Regions from separate parts of the Homo sapiens genome. Here region 2 is linked to region 1. The links are contacts of gene promoters, found by promoter capture Hi-C in blood cells and fetal thymus (Javierre and others, 2016). All regions are on one chromosome and are shown on one strand. The core of a region is centred on a gene start or on the middle of the fragment in contact, and the rest is flanking DNA. Distances in the headings are between cores, read along the strand shown. Region 1 holds the start of SVOPL (SVOP like). Region 2 overlaps LOC107986749 (a long non-coding RNA gene).

Evidence for each region. Contacts are between HindIII fragments. The CHiCAGO score rates a contact against its expected background, and 5 or more counts as called.
Region 2: a fragment that was not itself captured here is called in contact with the fragment with the promoter of SVOPL in region 1 in 10 of 17 cell types (naive CD4 T cells, non-activated CD4 T cells, naive CD8 T cells and 7 more); the score reaches 9.7 in naive CD4 T cells.

The regions. Positions count from the first base shown.
Region 1 is chr7:138,699,255-138,704,509 of GRCh38, reverse strand. SVOPL (SVOP like) reads left to right here and starts at 3,148. Exons shown (of 16, transcript NM_001139456.2): 1 at 3,148-3,332. It also overlaps the pseudogene UQCRFS1P2. The HindIII fragment of the contact is 672 bases long and covers 2,939-3,610 here.
Region 2 is chr7:138,163,294-138,168,548 of GRCh38, reverse strand. LOC107986749 (a long non-coding RNA gene) reads right to left here. Exons shown (of 3, transcript XR_001745033.3): 2 at 5,047-5,173; 3 at 3,064-4,305. Among named protein-coding and RNA genes, the nearest start is that of MIR4468, 42 kb to the right of the region's middle. RefSeq lists an enhancer at 3,535-4,734. The HindIII fragment of the contact is 153 bases long and covers 2,069-2,221 here.

The sequences.
Region 1 (5,255 bases), core at 1,899-4,398:
CTCCAGCCTCAGCCTCCTGAGTAGCTGGGATTACAGGCAACCGCCACCATGCATGGCTAATTTTTGTACTTCTAGTAGAGACGTGGTTTCACTGTGTTGGCCAGGCTGGTGTCTCGAAATCCTGGCCTCAAGTGATCCGCCCGCCTTGGCCTCCCAAAGTGCTGGGATTACAGGTGTGAGCCACCGCATCTGGCCAGTTCTAAATTTTCATTGTTAGTAAAGTTCTAAAAGAGCTGATTAAATTCAAAATATGCTTTGGATGAGACCCTGTTTTTTAAGTGCCTACGTGCCCTGTGTGTGGTAAAGCTGATTGGTGCTCATGGAAGCGGCATTGCTCAAACCTAAAAGGAAGCTTCTGTGTCACCTTCCATGTCAGTATCATGACTTTTCCAGCACAGTGGAAGGCACATATTAGATGCTCAATATTCACTTAATGAGATTGAGCAAAAGAATGATAGCTAAGGTCAGAAGGTGTACATGTTTGAGTCCCAACTTTGATGCTTTATCATGAGTGCCCTCAGGAAAGAAATGGAGTTGTTCCCCTCATTGCCGAATGGAAATAATGATCTCCACCTCTCTGGACTGTAGAAAAGGTGGTTGTAAAGCCCTGGGTGTGGAGGAGATACTGTCAGTGATGGTTGAACTGGGAGAATAGACTAAGACAGCATGCAAATGGAGGGATAAGAAATCTACCAATCCCATGCTGCCATGGCCACTGGACGATTTTCAGGTTCTCAGCTCACAAATGTCCTTCTCAACAACTATCTAAAAAGAACCCTGTGCTTAAATGGATCACCAGCCTGTTGATCCTTAAGTCTATTTTTTTTTTAATTTTTATATACCACTGTGTAGTTTTAAATTAGAATTAGGCCAGGCATGGTGGCTCACGCCTGTAATCCCAGCACTTTGGGAGGTCGAGGTGGGTGAATTGCTTGAGGCCAGGATTTTGGGACCAGCCTGGCCAACTGGTGAAACTCCTCATCTACTGAACGTATGAAAATTAGCCAGGCATGGTGGTGTATGCCTGTAATCCCAGCTACTCAGGAGGCTGAGGCAGGAGAATCACTTGAACCCGGGAGGCGGAGGTTGCAGTAAGCCGAGATCACGCCACTGCACTTCAGCCTGGGAGACAGAGCGAGACACCATCTCAAAAAAATAAAAACAAAAAATTTTTTTAAAGTAAAAAATTAGAACTACCTAAAAGACATTGCACCTTTCAAGTGTATGACAGTGTAACAGTGTTTAACAGTTGTTTTATTAAGTGAATGCTTGAACGTATTCAACATTAAATTCAATTTACTTCACAGTAATGTTTGCAAATACATTATCACTTCTTAAATATTTCAAATCAAGCAACTTGAAGTTCAGAAGGCTTGCTCTCAAATAACTCTTCTACAGTGACGCAAAGACTGAAAGGAGCCTACAACTTGAGTCCCAGTCTCTAACCAACAATGACTGTGTCCTCACTGGTGAACCCATATGAGGGAGCTCCAAGCTCAAGAGGGGCAGGCCCCTTCCAGATCCTCCCAGATGCATCTGTGTGACCCCCAGCAAGGGCAGTAATCACCACCAAAATCTTCATTTGCAATAGGTGTACAACAGGATGAATGCAAACGCCTAGTAAAGAAACTCGAATGGGTTACCCTGATAGGCATTGCACTCATTCTTTACTCCTTTTTTATCTTTTTTTTTTTTTTTTCAGACAGAGTCTCACTCTCTCTCCCAGGCTGGAGTGTGCAGTGGCGCGATCTTGGCTCACTGCAACCTCCGCCTCCCAGGTTCAAGCACTTCTCCTGCCTCATTCTCCCGAGTAGCTGGGATTACAGGCATGGACCACCACGCCTGACTAATTTTTGTATTTTTAGTAGAGACGGAGTTTCACCATGTTTGCCAGGCTGGTCTTGAACTCCTGACCTCAAGTGATTCACCCGCCTTGGCCTCCCAAAGTGCTTGGATTACAGGTGTGAGCCACCACTCCCGGCCCATCCTTTACTTCTTCTTCTTCTTCTTTTTTTTTTTTTTTTTTGAGACAGATTCTCACTGTGTTGCCCAGGCTGGAGTGCAATGGTGCAATCTCGGCTCACTGCAACCTCTGCCTCCCAGGTTCAAGTGATTTTCCTGCCTCAGCCTCCCGAGTAGCTGGGATTACAGGCACATGCCACCACGCCTGGCTAATTTTGTATTTTTAGTAGAGATGGGGTTTCGCCATGTTGGCCAGGCTGGTCTTGAGCTCCTGACCTCAAGTGATCTGCCCACCTCGGCCTTCCAAAGTGCTGGAATTACAGGCATGAGCCACTGTGCCTGGCCCTTAAATCATGCTATGGGCCCTCAGCTGGGACTCTTCAACTGCAGGTTCTTGGTCAATTTCCTTCTTGGTTCTGTGGCATACAAACAGGGATTTGCCTCTCCATTTGAAAGCCATGTTCTTGCCTTCTGGAATATCAAATAACTTGATTGCAATTTTCGACACGGCCGACTCATCAGCAGAAGCACTGATGCTGGAAACAAACTGGGAGATGACATTCTTGGCAGCATATGTGACACCCACAGCAGTTGTTGCAGTTACCAAATAGGAGAACCCTTTCCTAGCCTCGCCATCCTCTTTTGAAGACTTTGTCCCATCAAAAATCTCAATGCAACAGTAATCAGGGAAGTCAGGCACATTGATGTCTGTATGGGAATAACGAACAGAAGCAGGGACATTGAGGCCCACAGAGTTGACCCAAGACAGGCTCATGGCCTGGCCACTCAGTGACTCCTGGCATAGCAAAGGCTGCTCTTGTACAGCACAGGCAGCTTCAGGGTGGCAGGCACCATGGCCTATACCAGGGGCTACAGCATGCCTGCCACCCTGCAGGATATGGCTGACAGGATGGGCATGAACCTGCTCCTTAATTCTAAGCAATGGCTGTGAGCAAATGTTTGCAAGGGCAAAGCTTCCCTCTGCCCCTTGCCTAGGTCTTCTCTTTCAGAAATTCTTCCAGCTGTCCTGAGAACAACATAGTAATTTCCTCCAAAGTTCGGCAGCCTCTTTCAGTCTTAACAAGAAATGTAATTTCCCCTTTAAAAGGAGATCAAGTGCAGGCTGCTGAGAAGAGGGTGTGCCCTAGGTGTCATTCACTTGCCCAGAATGCGAAGTTGGCCCTTAAAGAATCCTGATCTGAGACCCGACCTGAAAGGAGAGGATAAGACCAGGGAGCCAGGCGTCTTGGGAACACAAGTCTGGCCACCCCTGAGAAGCCATCTGTGCTCCAATTTCCGTCTAAGACTTGGCCACGGTGAGGGGAGCAAAAGAGCCTGAAATTGGAAGACTGTCCAAGGAATATACAGAGGTGAGAAATTTGTGGGCAACATTGATCTGGACTTATTTTTTCCTGCTGCTGTAGAGGGTGGGGTGGGGCATTGACTGTTAGTTTGTGGCCGAAGGCAAATGGAGCATGAAAATTTCCTTGGATATTGCAAAACAAATTACATCACACATCACACACAAAACTCAGTTTAAAAAAGATCTACTGTGGCCCAATTATTTCTGGTTAAAAAACAATCAGTATAACAAAATACAATAGAATAAAATGTCAATCAGTCCTTTAGAATTTGTTTTAATGAAGCTTGAACTCCATCTGAGTTCAGGGAAAATCCCCAATCTATCAGTTTCTCACCAGGTTTTGTGAAGGTAGGTCATGGATTACTTTCCCATTGTAGCTTTTTAGGAACTTATAGTGAGGGACGCGAAGCATTCTTTTCCATGTTATTCCCTATTTTCCTGAGTTGGTCTAACTGATCATCCATCTGCCATCCATCCATCCATCCATCCATCCATCCATCCATCCTCTTACTGGGTTAGAAAGGATTTAGAATGACACAGGAAACCAGCCGGGTGCGGTGGCTCACGCCTGTAATCCCAGCACTTTGGGAGGCTGAGGTGGGTGGATCACAAGGTCAGGAGTTCAAGACCAGCCTGACCAAGATGGTGAAACCCCGTCTCTACTAAAAATACAAAAAAATTAGCCATGCATGGTGGTGGGTGCCTGTAATCCCAGGTACTCAGGAGGCTGAGGCAGAAGAATCGCTTGAACCCGGGAGGCAGAGGTTGCAGTGAGCCAAGATCACACCACGGCACTCCAGCCTGGGCAACAGAGTAAGACTCTGTCTCAAAAAAAAAAAAAAAAAAAAAGACATACGGAACCAAAGAACAGAGTATGTCAATTCAGCCTTTCCAGCATTCCATTGCTGAGTTAAGATTGCAAGCTCTATCTCTCAATAATGTTCCTCATCTCCATCTCTCAAACATGTTGTTCTCTTCTTTCTTCATGTAGCTTTTGGCTGAAACTCTAGAGACTACCAAGAAAATACATTTCATATATATGCTAACTAACTTTGAGTTTGTGTTTGAGTGTCCTTTTAATGACTTGGAGAGTAAGCCCCTTTCCAAGGTACAGATGTGAACGCTACAATCCTGATAATCTCCTGCCAACAGCCCTGTGCCCTGCAACTTGCTCCACCAAAGGAATCCTGTTGTTGAAAACTCTGTATCCTAATAGGGTGGGAATGAGGACTTTCTCTGTTGCAGGTAAACCTGTACGTTTGTTTCTTCCCCCTCTTGGCAAATTCCCCTGACACCGGGGACCCACCCGGCCCTGATTATCTTCAAGGGCTATGCATTGGGAAGACCAGTGTTACAAGTGACGGGCACTGAACGCTGTTCCGGTGGCGGGGCGAGGGCTGACTTGCTCCTCGGAGCCACACCTCACCACCAGCCCTTTTTTTCCACCCTCACCCCACCCCCTGCACCAACTATGCCTTTGGAAGAACTGAAGTTTGAAAGCTTCTTCTTCCTCTAAAATATATTGATTTTGCAATGTAGAACACAGGAGAATTTTGGTGAAAAGTATCCATTTTGTCGTGCCTCTCATAAGTAAGATGAAGTGACTAGTTTGGAGAGGTTTTGAGGTCTTATTTTCCAGTAGGAAAGTAGCACACTGAGGTCACAATTTCCCAACACCACTCAAGTTTACCCATGAAATAAAATCAACCTAGTTTAGAAAACAAGTGACTTTTTCCTCCCCTCTTTGGGTAATTTTTTATTTGATCCCAGTGTGTTCTAATATTAGCAGAATATTAGCAATAAATGCCTTTTGGAGACATATATGTATTTGGTAACTCTTTAGATACTTTATTTTTGTTTTTATTATTTTTTTATTTTTTGAGATGGAGTTTCGCTGTTGTCGCCCAGGATGGAGTGCAATGGCACAATC
Region 2 (5,255 bases), core at 896-3,395, 530 kb after region 1:
GTTGGGCATTTGAAGAGCCCTGACTGAAACTGGCTTTGCAAAAGTATGACAGAGAAATTGGACGTGGCTGACTGCATCTTGCTTCTAGCCTCACAGGCTGGCTGGCTTTGCTCATTCGTGGGTGTGGGCCAAGATAACTTTGGGAGAAACTTAGTTTATAGTTTAAATGATAATAACCTTCCCCCAAAACTAAACGATTCTTGTAAAACTAATGAAAGGCCATGAAGTTAGGAGGATGAGAGGGGCTTAAATTCTAAATAATTACCAGCCATTATTATGGAGGTCGTAAGATTTGCAACTTCCCCAATTACTCTTGCAGACAACATCACTATTGTAGAAACTAAGACTGGCCTTTTGAGATGTCTTTTCAGGTTTTTGCATTTCTGACAATGGATGGCCCCACCTGGACCTGCCAACCAGTCCTGTGGCCCCAACCCAGGAACTTACCCACCATAAGAGGGCAGCTTTGATTCCCTATGATTTCATCTCTGACCCAACCAATCAGTATGCCCCTACCTTAGGCCCCTGCTCATCAAAAGATCCTGGGAAAAACCCTAATCTTTGAGCCTTTGGGGAGATTGAGTTGAGTGATAACAGTCTCCTGTGTGGTGTGGCCAGCCTTGTGTCAATCAAACTCTTTTCTTTACTGCAATGGCATGGTCTCAGAGAGTTGATTTTGTGTGTGCAGCAGGCAAGGAGAACCCATCAGGGAGTTACATAATTTGGATATATGGGTGAAGGAAGTCCTCTCCTCCATTCTGAAGATTTGAGGCTGAAAGTCTGGGGAAATAAGCTGGCAATAGACAGATTAAAAGGAGAAAAAAATATATATATACATTTTATTAACATGCAGAAAGGCATCACATGGAAGTTAAGAAACTACCCAATAACTCAATGAGACCTAAAAGCTTTTATATTCCCTTCATAAGAGAGAGGGAAGGGGAGTATGTAGGCAACCTAGGGAGAGTAAATGATTATGAAAAGTACGAATCAGCCTTCAGAAGAATAGGTTATATCCTGTCTGTAGGAGGTGCTAACCTCCAGCTTTTTCTAGGTTTGACTTCTGTTGTGTGTTAATCTTCACGGATAGATAAAAATCCCCAGGAAGCATTTCTTGACAATTGGCTTCCTTCTGGAGAATCTGCACTTAGTCAGATAAGGGAAATTCAGGAAAAGCCCCTCTGTGCGTTTGGCATTTCCCAAATGACTTCAGTTTGAAGTAATCAGCATACCAATGCTGCATATTTTGGGGTGATATTTCTGAACTCTCTCAGGAAAAATATACTCCTGGATGGTAGGTTAATATTTGAAATTGTCAGTTCAGGCTTGGCTTGGTGGCTCACGCAGGTAATCCCGGGACTTTGTGAGGCCAAGGTGGGTGTGGATCACTTGAAGTCGGGAGTTCGAGACCAGCCTGGCCAACATGGCAAAACCCCGTCTCTACTAAAAATTCAAAAAAAGAATTAGCTAGGCATTGGGTTCATGTCTGTAATTTCAGCTACTTGGTGGGGGCTAAAGCAGGAGAATCGCTTGAAACTGGGAGGCAGAGGTTGCAGTGAGCCGGGATCGTGCCACTGCACTCCAGCCTCAGCAACAAAGTGAGGCTTCATCTCACACACAAAAAAAGAAATTCTCCATTCAGAAGCCACATTCCAGAAGGATTAGATTATGGCTCCAGTCGTCTTTATCTCATATCAATCCCAGGGGGTTTGTTAATTAGCATAAGGGATGTTAGAAATGATTTTTTACTGGTAAAATGAATTCAATTTTATGTGGATTGGATAAAAATGTCTTATGGATACTCTTGCCTTTGCATAAATGAGGTGTAAAAGTCCAGCTAGCCTGTCTATTCATTTTGAATTATGTCTCCAGGCTTGAAATTCTAGACTGTTTGAATTATCTCTCCAGGCTTGAAATTCTAGACTGTAGTGAGAGAATTTTTCACCTGACTCTCATTTGAGAGTTAGTTAATCCTGCTCCAAAGCTGGAACATGGTCCTCCTGTCTCTGACGCTCATAAGGTTCTGTGGGAACACTGAAAGGTCAGAGAGCTAAGACTTCATCAAGCTTATAAAACGGGTAGTATGACTATTTGGAGGGCCTGATTGCTAATACATATTTATACCCATGGCTGAATGAGGTCTGAAATTTGCTTTCATTATAACATACCATTTGGAATTGAAGTCTCTATGGTTGTCACCAAATTCTAATTACTGGAAGCTTTGGAGAGCTAATCATAAAGCAACTAATAAGGGTGTATGACCAAATTGGCTTAAGTATCTTGAAAACAGCATTGAAGCTACTTTTTTTTTTGAGATGGAGTTTTGCTGTTTCACCCAGGCTGGAGTAAAGTGGCACAATCTCAGCTCACTGCAACCTCCATCTGCTGGGTTCAAGCAATTCTCCTCAGCCTCCCAAGTAGCTGGGATTATAGGCACCCACCACCATGACCAGCTAATGTTTGTATTTTTAGTAAAGACAGGGTTTCACCATGTTGGCCAGGCTGGTCTCGAACTCCTGACCTCAGGTAATCCACCCCCTCCCCCGCCCTTGGCCTCCCAAAGTGCTAGGATTACAGGCATGAGCTACCGTGCCTGGCTGCAGCTACTTCTTTATATGATTCATGGCTTTTGGCCACAAATGCATGCAAGTAACTAGATGAATACGTATATTACTTGCATGTGCATTAAAATTATTTCTTCTTTTTCAAATTATTCCTTCTTTGCACCAGCTAGAATTTAAATATATCTACCTGATTCGGAGCATTTGGCAGAGATATTAGAGATGGAACAAGATCCAGAGAGGGTCTAATGAAATAATAATTGTGGTGGCACATGCCTGTAGTCCCAGCTACTTGGGAAGCTGAGTTTGGAGGATCACTTGAACCTGGGAGGCAGAGGTTGCAGTGAGCCCAGATTGCACCACTACACTCTAGCCTGGGTGACAGAGTGAGACCCTATCTCAAAAAAAAAAAAAAAAAAAAAAAAAAAAAAAAAAGAAAGAAGAAAGAAAAAACCTTAATAATAATTATATAATTATAATTATAGTAAAAGTAGCAAGTAGCTTTTTCCTTTTTGCAAAATTAATTCTACCTTTCAGCATGTACAAAAGTACATTCTAGAAAGATTAAAGAAATAGATATAAACACCATAAAAATCATGGAAGAAACACATAATATTTTAATCTTGGGGATAAGAAAATCATCTCAAGCAAGAAACACTTGAGAAAAAAATAATTTTTGCTCACTAATCTCTAGGTTCATGGCTGAGGCCCCTATAACAAAATACAGATTCACAAGAGAAAATCATACACATATTATTTATACGTGGTATGGAAGCCTTCATAAGGAAAGGAAGACCTCCCCCAAATGCATAAATTTGTATATTCTTTATGCTAGGTTTGATGAAGAAATATGATTGAACAAAGGGAGAATGATATCATTGAGAGAGGAAGGAGGAAGAAACCAGTCAGGCAGGCAGTTATGGTGGGTCCTTGGTTGAATCTTTTCAAACAAAAGAACAGCCAGAAAAATCAAGCTGCAGGCACAGATAAGGGAACTTGCACAGCGGCACTTGCCTAAGACATGCCCACAGCCACACAGATAAGAAAGCCTACACAGGTGACTTGCCCAGACATGCCCGTAATGGAAAATTCCATCCCCTGACACATGTGCAGTAAGGGCAACAAAGCAATACGGAGTAACTCAAGCTAAGGGCCTACATGTGCATTAGGAGGATGGGGTGGAGCTACCAGAAATTCGCATCTCATGCAAATGAGATGCCCAGCTCTAACTGGTTTCTTATAAAAGCCTTTGCATTCAACTGTAAAAATGGCAACCCTCTTTTGGGCCCCTTTCTGTGGTGGAGAACTTTCTTCTTTTGCTTATTAAACTTCCACTCCAACCTCACCCTTGGTGATCATGTTCCTTAATTGTCATGGTTGTGAGACCGAGAACTCAGGGTGATACCTCAAACGAGAGACTGCTACATTGCGGTGCGTTGGTGAGACTGTAACATAATGTTAATAAACTGGGGAGAACTTAGGAAGCCGTTTGTTCAAACTCTTCTCTTTGTCCTTGTATCTTCAGAAATGAGGATGTTGCTATCTTCTGGGTATAGGGAGGGCACCTCTCACATGAGGGTCATAAGACCTACTTGAGGGGATGGTCAGGAAATCCTTCCTAGGTTTTATGATCTGTTTCAGGGGAGTAGAGCATTGTGGGGGAGGTAGTGAGCGTGACCTTCCTGCTTCTGCTGTCTTCTCAAATGCCAAGTTTTCACATTTTGGGGTAGCATGTCCTGAATTCCTTCAACATGAAACCCAGAGTTAGAAAAAGAAAAGATTGAGCAACTTAATTAGATAAAAGCAAAATATTAAGCAATGACAAAAGATATCATTAAAAATGTTGTTAAAAGGGAAAAAAAAAGAGGAAAAAAAAGAAAACAAACAAAATGTTGTTAAAAAGCCACAGTTTGGCTGGGTGCAGTGGCTTGCACCTGTAATCCCAGCGCTTTGAGAAGCCAAGCAGGAGGATCTCTTCAGTCCAGGAGCTCAAGACCAGCCTGGGCAACACAGTGAGACACCTGTCTCTACAACCCCCCCATCCCACTTCCCAATGCACACAAACAACAATTTGGCAGAAAATATTTGCAATGTGTAAGAAAAAATCAGAAAATACTTACACTTGAGCTAATTAATTGATGACAGAGATGATGGTTCTTAATCATTGAGAACCTCATTGAGGGTTTGTCATCTATCTCAGTATCATAATTTTTCTCACACATAATGACATAATTTGAACATGTTTTCATATTATTAAGTATGTTTCTAGAACCATAATTCTTAATAGTCCCACAGAAATTCACTATGCTGAGTGTGGTGTTGAATGCTGGGGTCACCACAGTGGAGCAGCCCTGGAGGAGAATGAGCAGGGTGCTTTCATCAGTGACCCTCCTCTATCCTTTCCAGTCAGTGACACAGGCTCTTGTCAATCAACGGTGGACAATCATTTATAAAGTGTCCCAAATGATTAACTTGCATGGGTTACCTGTGTCTGCTGTTCCAGAACTGATTCAATTTCTTCAAATCCTTTTCTCCTCCTCCTCCTCCTTCTCTGCTTCCTCCTCCTCCTTCTCCTCTTCCTCCTCCTCCTCCTCTTCTTTCCCTTTTTTAAGCTAAAGATGGAAAAGAGAGGCAGGAGGAAAACATGTGGTAGTACGAAACCAGTAAATGTGTGAAAACTCCATGACTAATATT